2 separate regions of the Homo sapiens genome follow, and region 2 is linked to region 1. Evidence: promoter capture Hi-C in 16 types of primary human blood cells and fetal thymus (Javierre and others, 2016). All regions are on one chromosome and are shown on one strand. The core of a region is centred on a gene start or on the middle of the fragment in contact, and the rest is flanking DNA. Distances in the headings are between cores, read along the strand shown. Region 1 holds the start of PRRC2C (proline rich coiled-coil 2C). Region 2 overlaps DHX9-AS1 (DHX9 antisense RNA 1).

The links. The method cuts DNA at HindIII sites, captures the fragments that hold promoters and counts their contacts. A CHiCAGO score of 5 or more calls a contact.
Region 2: a contact is called between a fragment that was not itself captured here and the fragment with the promoter of PRRC2C in region 1, in 1 of 17 cell types (total B cells). The highest score is 7.2, in total B cells.

Annotation. Positions count from the first base shown.
Region 1 is chr1:171,483,241-171,489,250 of GRCh38, reverse strand. PRRC2C (proline rich coiled-coil 2C) reads right to left here and starts at 3,721. Exons shown (of 35, transcript NM_001387844.1): 1 at 3,516-3,721. RefSeq lists enhancers at 3,168-3,916, 3,823-4,132. The HindIII fragment of the contact is 3,004 bases long and covers 912-3,915 here.
Region 2 is chr1:182,832,378-182,838,387 of GRCh38, reverse strand. DHX9-AS1 (DHX9 antisense RNA 1) reads left to right here. Exons shown (of 2, transcript NR_148933.1): 2 at 454-4,716. Among named protein-coding and RNA genes, the nearest start is that of DHX9, 4.0 kb to the left of the region's middle. The HindIII fragment of the contact is 1,584 bases long and covers 1,593-3,176 here.

The sequences.
Region 1 (6,010 bases), core at 2,472-4,971:
GGTTACCTGTGATACTATTCTTAGAGGTAAAGGAAAAAAAACCTGACAGCATTTTCTTTTGCTCCAATAATATACTTATCAGTTAATCTTGTGGGTCTATTCTTTTGTGTTTCTCACCCTCATTCATTCAATAACATATAAACTCTAGGTATACGCCAACCACCATACAAGGTGATGAGGACATGGAAACAGTCTAGTAGAGGAAAACAAACTAGTATTAGAACACAGAAAACAGAAAAATTACCAGATAGTATGTAGTACATATTGCTATGTAGTATGCTACATACATAATACCCAATAGTTTTTTTAATACTAGACGTGCTCCTCAAATGATATTCCATCTTCCCTTAATGTTGAGCACATAGCAGCACCACACAGGGATGAGTATATCACACTGACTATAATTCACATAATAATTTCATTACAATCTTGTGTTCAGACTCTTAGTTAACAGTCTAAGAGTCTAGTTAATCATGTCTGCCAATCAGATAAAAATTTCCGGTTGAAACTAAGTAACAGTCCTTGTTTGACTGGATTTGCCAGCAAATACATGTAGTCACAGGCCCCAAAACATGCTTTCTGATAATCTGGAGGAAAATAAGGACTAGAAATGTAACTGGCAATGCTGGGAGCAATGGTAGGCACTTCTAGTCCCAGCTACCTGGGAGGCTGAGGCAGGAGATTCTCTTGAGCCCAGGAGTTGGAGGCCAGCCAGGGCAACAGAGTTAGGTCTGTCTCTTAAATAGAAAATTTACTAAAGTTACCCTCTCTATAGAACGCTTTTATCCACAAAGGTGTTCTGGCTCATGCATCGATGAGATTAGCGAGGAATTTAAAATGTTATTACTCATAAAACTAACACAGTAACTCTCAGACTTGTAAGCAACAATTAACATAGACTGAGATAAGCTTTCATTGTGTTGTCCTATTCATAAGGTGACAAAATCACGATTTACCGAAATGAAAGTGTGTCATAACTCAGACACAATTTTTGTATGTCCTTCACTGTAAGAATACAATTCTGTACTAACTTATGTAACATTTTACCAATGATCAATTCTTGTCATTTACAAATATGACATAAATAGCATCCAAAACACAAGTTACCTAACTAACAAACTGAAGTAGTGTTTAGGGGTGGCACTTGGAGGCAGACAGGGATATAATATAATCTTCAAAGACATTTTATCACTAAAGAGGGTGGGGTGGGGGTAAGAAGAAGAGAGGGGGCTGGAATGAGCCAGAACTTCTGCATTTTCAGCTATGAACAAGATACTCATCCCAGGGATATTTACTGTAGAGCATAAAGAAATCGCTAAGAAGCAAAATCCTGCATATAAGTAGACATATCAGGGATAAGGGGAGGTGAAATTTTCTTATGTACCTAAAGAAATATATACATCACCCTGAGAATTTACAGATTATTTATTGCTTGGAAGAGAGTATTTTCTTCTACCAATATCCTACCATTCTCCCTCCACTATTAGTTGACCTTTTACTATGCACTAAGCATAGTAATAAGCCCTTTACATACATTATCCATTATCTTTTTTTACTCCTATAAAAGCCTCTGAGGGAAGTCCTATTATCATCACCATTTTACAGATGAGGGAATATTCTACCAATAATATAGATCAGACGCCTAAATTTAAAAATTATATCTACGACATGGTAGAGTTAGTTTTAAGTTATCTCTAAGCACTCAAATAGAAAAGGACACAAAAAAATTAGCCTCTACCCCAAGTCCAAAGTGGATATATTCCATTTTTACAACTTTCAAAACTTTAACCTTAGCATGCAACAATATTCATATACTAGTCAAGCTAAAGAAAAACTACTAGTTAATAATGCTTTATCTTATTTAGTTACTGTAGTTTATAATTTAAAAAGCAGGTTGAAGGTTTAGAGCATCCCCTTTGGGTTCAGACAGTATGGAATTGAACCTACACAATACCACCAATAACTGCTATGTGACCTTGGTCAGACTACTCTCTCAGATTTCATTTCCTCATCTGTAAAATGGGGATGATCTTAATAGCACTTTTCTCAAAGGTCTGTTGTGGAGATTAAAAAAAAAATGTATGAAAAGGACTTATTACTGTGCTCAGTGTATAGCAAAAGGTCACCTAATGGAGAACAGCCACACATAAGCTAAGCAGAGCAAACACAATCACTTAAAAAGGCTATATTCTGAAAATCCACTTACAGAAAAGGAGAGAATTACTATTTGACTACATGCTAAAGACAAAATTCAAGTTCAATTTATTCCTAATTTTTTAGGGGATCAATGCATTTGGGGTGAGCCAGAAAAGATGCTGCAGTGCATCTGTGACACACACCTAAAAATGGCTCCAGTCAAAGCAGCATCTTAATTACCAATATGGGAGGTGAAATCTAGTTTTGAAAAATGGTGGGGTTAGGCTTGGTAGGTGCTTAGTATCACCCTATTATTTTTATTTGCAGGAGTAAGCTATTAAGTACTCAACAATCAAAAAATCCTCCGATTCTTCTGGTGCATTCCAAATGAAAATCTTACAGCAGAGCCGCCTACTGTACAATTCTAAGTACTCTAACGAGGTATGAATCTATGAACCCAGGCTGAAAACCAGCCAATGCGGAAATCCAGGTAGCTTTATAAGCCAGCAAACATCAGGCATGTCAGACCCTCAAAAGATCCCAAATAATGTCAAAACACACATACATCCCTTTAAATTAAAGGTACTCCTCTCATGCAAAGGAAGGAAGACTCTATCAATGTCTCTATAGTGGCCCCATGCCCTTTTCTTCAGTCCTAAAACGGGGCCTTTACCCTGACACCACCAATATCAACGCTATCTCAAAGACAGGGAGCTACCGAGATTCACCACGCAAGTTAGAGGATGGAGCGGCCTAGAGTGTGAAAAGACTACCCAAATCCTCCTCCGGAGTTGGGCAGCACTTCCCTAGCGGAAGTAGGGTTGGTCTTGATTCCCCGAAGAGCCTCTCATCTAACCAGGTCTTTAAACCAGACCCTCCCATACATTGCTCATTGCAAGTCCCACCCTCACTACACAGGAAGAGGTAGACAGTGAAAGCCCCGGCTGAGTCCTTCAGTTGTTTGGGGAAACGCATACCCGACACTAAAAAAAAAAAAAAAAAAAAAAGACTTCACGTCCGCCAGTCCAGGAAGACGGAAACCCCCTTCGCTTACCCGGCAACATGCGTAATCCCCTCGCAGGGCCAGGACTGGGGTCTAGGTGGGAGCAAGACAGACCGGTCCAGAACTCCCGCTGCAGACCACATGGGGCGGGTCTGACTCCGGTTTCCCGCTCCCCAAGCTGGAGGCCGACTTCCCCAGACACAGAGATGATGGTAACCAAACAGAAGGGAAATGCCCGGACCCAAGGCCCTCTCCACGCGGCCCCCTAGCCTCCGGGCGCCAGGGTCTGGGTGCGCTCCCACGCCCCAGGCCGCACTCTGGCCGTTCCCGATGGGGCCCTCTTTGATCGCGGCCCCCACACCCTCGCTTTCCTTACCGGTCAGGGTGAGTGTCAAGTTTGCGCACTTCGAGGGTCTCCGCCGATCTCTGATCGAAAGAAGGGGGAGGGAAAGCTGGGGTTAAAGGGGTGGCCGGAAGGGCCACCAGACTGGAAAAGCCGAAGCTGCGGATGGACAAACCGCCAAAGCACTTTCGCAGCTTTCCGAGGGGGAGCGAGCGAGCGAGAAAAAGAAGCAAGATGGCGGCTAGCCAGCCCCTACGTACTACGTCATGACGCTAAGTACGTAGGTCAAATCTCCGCAAGACCACACTCCTGCGCAGAGACGGCCGGATCACGTGAAGCCTCCGTGGCGGCCCAACCCCGACAGAGGGTGCTGGCGCTTCCTGCTGGACGGAGGGAGTTTCTGCAATCAGAATTATCTTTTCAGGACAAAGCTTGGACCTGAGACCTTTCTAAGAAGTCTTGAATTGACCACGTTTACAAGTTGATAATAAGCCTCAGTGAAATGAGCACTCTTATGTCTGGTGGGTGGATGTGTAAATGGTTGAACCAGCAGTTCGCCAGTATGTCTCAGTGAATTTGGGGCAAGCTGAGAAGTCTTGGTGTATTGAAAAGTTATCACAGAGAGTGAAAGTAAAACTAGTGTGAGGAACAGAGTAGCATGGGCTGCTGAGAGCACTTTTTAAGTTTCTAATTATGGATGTGAGATAAGCCATTCAGTTTATTTATATGATCTCTCCATCACAGTGTTCAGCTCCGTTGAATAGTAAGATTCACCCATGCTGGCTTTTACTAGGCAAGTGTAACATAGGCAGATGAGTGTATCTGGAAGTGGGAGACTACAATGATGATAATATTATGTCAGAACAGATGGCGAATGTTTAGTAAATGGTATCTTTTGTCCTCTTTGTGAACTACCTATGACATATTTAAAATTCAAGGATTTCTTACCACTTCTGGTCTGAACGATCTTCCCCGCCAGTAGCTGGTGTATGTCCATGGAATTGTCACTGTAGCAATGTTAGAATAAATGAAATAATAAAGAGAGGTAAATTATGAACACCTCCCTCCCCACTAATATTAATTTGAAGTAGAAAAGTCTGGACTTGCTTGGTGGCTCATGCCTGTAATACTAATACTTTGGTAGGTCAAGGCAAAAGGATTGCTTGAGACCAGGAGTTCAAGACCAATCTGGGCAACATAGTGAGACCCTACCTCTGCAAAAAAATTAAAAAGAAAAAAAGCTAGCTAGGCATAGTGGCACATGCTTATAGTCCTAGCTACCTGGGAGGCTGGAGGCAAAAGGATCACTTGAGCACAGGAGGTTGAGGCTGCAGCGAGACTCTTTCTCGAAAAAATAGAAAAGAAGAAAAGAAAAAGTTTTTTTATTGATATAGGGTCATTGCCAGGGGAAAGCCTACTGATCATCCACAAGAGGACAAGGAAGCATTACTTTAGTGAATTTCTACAACCTTCTAGGATCTGGTCTATAGTGTCCTGGTCACAGAAACATCTTTCTTTGTTTTTTTGGAGGCAGGGTCTCACTTTGCTGCCCAGGCTGGAGTGTAGTGGCATAATCACAGGTCACTGAAGCCTCAACCTCCCAGGCTCAAGCAATCCACCTGTCTCAGCCTCCCAGGTAGGTGGGACTACAGGTGCTTGCCACAAAACCTGGCTTTTTTTTTTTTTTTTTTTTTTTTTTGCCAGTAGAGACGAGGTCTTGCTATGTTGACTGGGCTGGTTTCGAACTCCTGAGCTCAAGCAAGCCTCCCGCATTGGCCTCCCAAAGTGCCGGAATTACCGGCATGAGCCACCACGCCCAGCCAAATCATCTGTCTTGAGCAATGGAGAACAACTTCAGCAATCAGATGAAATTACATTAACCAAGGTCATAAGACTGACACGTATGGCCGGGCGCGGTGGCTCACGCCTGTAATCCCAGCACTTTGGGAGGCCGAGGCGGGCGGATCACAAGGTCAGGAGATCGAGACCATCCTGGCTAACACGGTGAAACCCAGTCTCTACTAAAAAATACAAAAAAAAATTAGCCGGGCGTGGTGGCGGGCGCCTGTAGTCCCAGCTACTCAGGAGGCTGAAGCAGGAGAATGGCGTGAACCCAGGAGGCGGAGCTTGCAGTGAGCACAGATCCTGCCACTGCACTCCAGCCTGGGCAACAGAGCGAGAGAGCGAGACTCTGTCTCAAAAAAAAAAAAAAAAAAAAAAAGACATGTATTAAATTATTAATTTCTAAGAGCTTTAATTTATACACCTGAACACTCAACAACTGCAAAGCCAATACTTTTTTTTTCTTTTTTTCTTTTAATTTTTGCCAGAAACAGAAAGCCTCCGGTATGCCAGCATGGACCCAAGGTGCTATCTTTTCTTGAGTACATTTTCTCATTTCCCTCCCCTCCCCTCCCCTCCCTCCCTCCTTCTCCCCTCCCCTCCCTCCCTCCCTCCCTTCCCCTCCCCTCCCTCCCTCCCTTCCTTCCTTCCTTGCCTGCCTGCCTTTTCTTCCTTCCTTCCTTCCT
Region 2 (6,010 bases), core at 1,135-3,634, about 11 Mb before region 1:
ACTTTAAGGTAGGAATAAAATCTGCAAGGTTGCTTTTGTTTAAATTGGATAACCTTTTGTGTTCCAAGTCTTTGGAGTAATTTTGTGTTCCAAGTCTTTGGAATAATTGTGTCCTTAATTATTATACTAGTCACTGTTAAATTTTGAAACTCCAGTGCGTCCCATGAAGGTAATGATACAAAACATTTCCAGCTGGGATTGTTCCAGGGAATCCAGACTAATCAATTATCTGGGCTCATTATATCTATGGATCTTTATTTTTCACCTCTTTCCTTATGTTTTTCTTAATCCTTCTAGCTGATAGTGATCACTCCCTTTAAAACTGTCATTCTTAAAATCAGAACAACATAGTTTATCATTTACTTATTATTTTCTTCATGTGATTGTTCTCCTTAATTAAGAATAAAATCATTGAAGGAAAGACCTTAATTTTTTTTTTTTTGTACCCTTCAGGGTGTTGAAAGCAGCAGGGGCCTAGAAGACATTAAACCGATACCACAGAAATACAAAGGATCATTAGAGACTATTATGAACAACTATATGCCAACAAATTGGAAACCAAATGGAAATGGATAAATTCCTGAACAGATACAACTTACCAAAATTGGACCAAGAAGAAATAGAAAACCTGAAAAGACCAACTATGAGTAATGAGATTAAATCAGTAATATAGAGTCTCCCATCAAAGAAAAGTCCAGGCCCTGATGGCTTCACTGCTGAATTCTACTGAACAGTTAAAGAAGAACTCATACCAGTTCTCAAACTCATCCTGTGAGGGCAGCATTACCCTGATACCAAAACTAGATATGGACACAAGAAAAAAAATCTATAGGCCAGTATCCCTGATGAACATAGATGCAAGAATCCTCAACAAGACCAGGTGTGGTGGTTCATGCCTGTAATCCCAGCACTTTGGGAGGCCAAGGCAGGTGGATCACCTGAGGTCAGGAATTTGAGACCAGCCTGGCCAACATGGCAAAACCCTGTCTGTACTAAAAATACAAAAATTAGCCGGGCAAGGTGGCGTGTGCCTGTAATCCTAGCTACTTGGGAGGCTGAGGCAGGAGAATTGCTTGAACCTGGAGGGAGGAGGGGCAGAAGTTGCAGCGAGCTCAGATCGTCCCACTGCACTCCAGCCTGGGTGACAGAGTGAGACTCCATCTCAAAATAAGTAAATAAATAAAGAGACTCAACTAGCATAAATGAATTGCAAGTGTTTTATAGTATATAATGAGCACAACAAAAGTATCAATATATTACATGGAAATACATTTTTCAAAGCTGGATCTTTAGCTTCCAAGGATTAAGGAGAATTTTGTTACTGAGTTGGTTCTTAATTTAGGCTCTGCACCTGAGACCTAGAGTCCCCTGGGATTTGGGTCCGAGGACTGGCATTACCTTTGTAGGTGGCTCTTGGCAACTAGCACTGTCTAAGATCTTAACATTTGCAAATGAAGCCTTAAAACATGTCCCAAAAGTATGGAAAGTGGGCCGATTTCAACACAACCATTACCTGTTCCTGGTAGCTGACCAACTAGGAGATTTCAGAGGTCAAGTGGGACAGAGCAGGGTAGGGAATTTTTTTTTAAGCTTTATTATAAAACAGGTAACTTTGTCCCTATCTTAAGAATTTGGAACTGAGGCTATAGGTCACTCAATGATCAAATAATGAAAGGTCTGCTTCAACTGGACTACTTAATATTTCACATTTACCTTTTTGACTAGAAATAACTGATGAAAGTTCACTTAGTTTGGTGGGAAATAAGAGATACAAAGATATCTTCTCCAGGATGAGACTCCCAAAAGCAAATGTTCTCTGAGTACCTCTGTCGCTCAAATTTAAGCCCTTTGGAGTTCCTTTGAGCATGGTTCTGCCCTCATATTTCTGATCACTCCCTCTAGACTCCTACTCAACTTCTCTTCCTCTGTGTGCACTCCAATTGCAAGTCACACCCAGGTTCTGTTCTTAGCACTCTATATACCCTCTACCTGGAGAGTCTTATTCTTCTATATTCCAACCACCATCCATATGCTGATATGGACTGAATATTTGTATCTCCCCCAAATTTTTATGCTGAAGCCCTAATCCTCAATGTGATGGTATTTGGAGATGGCGCTTTTAGGATATAACTGGGTTTAGATGAGGTCATGACAGTAGAGCCCCCATGGTGGGATTAGTGCCCTTATAAGAGGACAAGACCAGAGCCTTCTCTCCTCTGATATAATTACCCACATAAATCTTGACATATTGAAGAGTTGGTTGATCTCTTAACGAAGGGGTCTCCAACTCCTGGGCTGCAGACCGGTACAGGTCCATGGCCTGTCAGGAATGGGGCTGCACAGCAGGAAGTGAGCGAAGGGCGAGCAAGCATTACCGCCTGAGCTCCGCTTCCTGTCACAGCAGCAGCAGCATTAGATTCTTATAGGAGTGTGAACCTTATTGTGAACTGCAGATGCAAGGGATCTAGGTTGCGTGCTCCTTATGAGAAAATGCCTGATGATCTGAGGTGGAACGGTTTCATCCTGACACCATCCCTCCCAGGCCCCTGGTCCGTGGAAAAATTGTCTTCCACGAAACCTGTCCCTGGTGCCAAATAGGTTGGGGACCGCTGGTTTAAAGGACTGATGACTCTTAATGCAATGAGTGACACAGATGAAGTATATAATCTGGATTCCAGCAGAAATGGTAGTCTAGATTTTGAGAATGAAGAATAGAACCTATCTGATACTTCTAAAATTATTTTCTTGTTAATAATTACGGTCATTCAAAAGCCAATTTCTATTAGACGTCTTCCTTTTTTATTGCTTGTTGTACATAAGTGAATATTTATCTTTTCTATAAGCAGTTGTAACATTGGAAGTCATTTTTCTGTCTCCATTGTACCAGTTCTTCTTGAACCATTTGTTAATCTACAAGTTCTATGGCTATATAGAAATCTATTCACATTCACAGGATTTTGCAACATGTTTTGCTCCATTTTTACAGTTACATTTGCTTTCTCTGTATTTATTCTACAGGAATTAATTTATTTTATAGTTTGGCTTGCTTCTCAGTTATGTAGTCTTGAAATGCCATATTCACATTTGCTTTTACGGTTCCCACATTAAGGTTCAGGGCTTTATTTACCCATGCATTTGTATATTTGAGCATTTTTGTTGCTTGCTTTATACAAGCTTTAACTGAGACTAATACATGTCTTTCTTTTCTTTTTGTAGAGACAGGGTCTTGTTATGTTGCCCAGGCTAGTCTCAAACACCTGGCCTCAACTGATCCTCCCACCTCAGCTTCTGAAGGTGCTGGGATTACAGGCATGAGCCACCACAAGAACAACACATTTCTATAAGGTTATGGGGTTTTACTTTTTTCCAGTGTTAATTAGTTTCACATATCTAGAATTTGTAATTTCTTATTGGATACTAGAATTACTGTATTTATTTACCTGAACAAATTAATGTTTCCCTCTACAAACTACTTTAGAAAGATTTTCAATAAAGGTAAATGGGATGTAATAATCTATTAAGAAAAAATGACTCAGAGTGGAACCTGTAGCAAAATATAAATTTGCTGTATTTAAGAGTAATTGAAAGCAAAAGATTCCAAAAGCTTGAAAAAAATGGAGATGCCCTAAATAAACTTACCATTGAAAAATAACAGAAAATGTTGAATACAAAAAAAAAAATGTATTGCTGTGCTGCCAAGAAAGAAAATGCTTTAGAGGTAAACATAAATGAAGTGAATGAATGAATCCAGAGAGGCAAGAGAACCCTGACGTAAGCACCTACCCTGAAAGGGTCTGCTGATTTTTAATGAACTTGAGCTTCCTTTTAATAAAAGCTGCATTGGGGCTTACGAGAAAGGAGACAAAAGAGACTGCCCAACATGCAGAGGCTGAGAGGAGACCTACACATAAACCAGAAAGCCTTATATCTTCAGTGAAAAGTGAACAACAATAGCAACAATGAGAAGCCAAACCAACCAGAAGAGGGGTATAATAAGGAAACTTGTCTATCAAAAACTAGATGCTAGGTAGAATAAAAAGACTTACTTCCTCTGATATCCAAAAAAACCTCAAGCCAATTATTTAAAGCGGTTATTAGTCAACAGAGATAAATCACTTAGAAGGATTAAAATTATATTCTCTTTGGTGGAATATTCTTCTATCCAGACCTCAAATAATTCCTATAAAATTCCACTGAACATAAGCTCGAGTTCAAAAAATCATAAAACGGGTGAGGATCTTAAGTACCTCTGATGAGTGGCAGGGTATAAGTGGCTCATGTGGGTGATCCCAACACTTTGGGAGGTTGAAGTGTGGGATCACTTGAAGCCAGGAGTTCAAAACCAACCTGGCCAACATAGTGAGACCCTGTCTCTGTCTCTAAAAAACAAATAAAGTCCAATGAGTTGAGTGCCAGCAGAAAAAGAAAACTGACAGAATTATATATAAATGTTTTAGATACTAGAATTATCTGCTACTGAATAGAAATATACCTTTTCCTCGTTATTATGTTTAATTCACTCCTGAAAACCCTACTGCTAAGTGAAAAGCCACTAAATGAAAATAATATTTTAACTGGAAAATCATGATGCATTCTCTGTAAACCCAAGAAAACTAAACAATTTCAGACCAAAAAAATCAATTTTTCCAGAGACAAGGTTATATCAACAAGTTGAAATAATAAAGACAGTTTATTTACAAACTGTAATGTACTGAAGGCTTGTTGTAAACTTTCTTCTTTCTGTACCAATTTTTCAGTCTTTAGGGGGGCCTATAGTTATTTTACACTCTAAATTTATAGCACTTAAAGTTACAGCACAGAAAAACAGTGTGAGTTTAATGTTCCTATGACTTACAACACCTTACAAGAACTGGCTCCTTTGCAGTCCCTTTAAATTAATCACTTCCTACTCTTTCTCCCTGGTGTCTGAGCTCTGATTCATTGGCTTCTGTTCAGTTTTTCACACTCCAGACTCTCCCATGGCTCAGAACTGTCAAATATGTGGGTCCTACCACCTGGAATGCACCCTCTGCTACTCTTCACCTGACTGGTTTCTTTCCAACATTCTAACTTCAGATTAAGTCTAATGGACCCAGAGAAGCCCCCTCTCACTACCTTGTGGAAATTGGTCCCTCTTCTGCACCTCCATCTCCCACCACTTTCCTCTGGCCATATTGAAGGATCTTGAAAGACATACAGATAGGTACAGTTCTATATAGACAAATGAAAGAGCAAAAGGCAGAATATACTTAGTGTTTTAACTGAATGATTCTGAAGTTCTGCTCAAATTGGGAAGTCAAACCTGATTGAGGTTATTACCTTAGGAAAAGGACAGTACTAATTGGCCAATATTCAGGGGAGTTCAGATAGTAACTGCAACCTGAAGACCAGCTAGGCCTGTGATATGGTTTGGCTGTGTCCCTACCCAAATCTCATCTTGAATTGTAGTTTCCATAATCCCCATGTGCCATGGGAGGGACCTGATGGGAGTTAACTGAATCATGAGGGTGGTTACTCCCATGCTGCTGTTTTCGTGAGAGTGAGTTCTCACGAGAGCCGCTGGTTTTACAAGGGTGCCTTTTGCTCAGCACTTCTCCTTGCTGCCACCATGTGAAGAAGGATGTGTTTGCTTCCCCTTCTTCCATGATTGTAAAGTTTCCTGAGGCCTCCCCAGCCATGCTGAATGGTAAACCTCTTTCCTTTATAAATTACCCAGTCTCAGATACATCTTTATTAGCAGCATGAGAATGAACTAATACAGGCTATGAATATTATTTGCCACTCTAACATGCTTTAAATGTGTCCACTCATTCAAGCTGAGGGTGGATCACTTTGTTTCACCCTAGTCTGAGGATTCTCAAGAATGTAGTATGTGGTCATTATCCCACCTCCTTCTACCTGAGGTAGGATAACCTTAAAATGGTACAAACTGGTCTTGGACTGTAGACCATACTGAGATGCTGATGCACTTGCCCGCTTGTGGGAACCCACTTCCCCATGACCTCAAAGA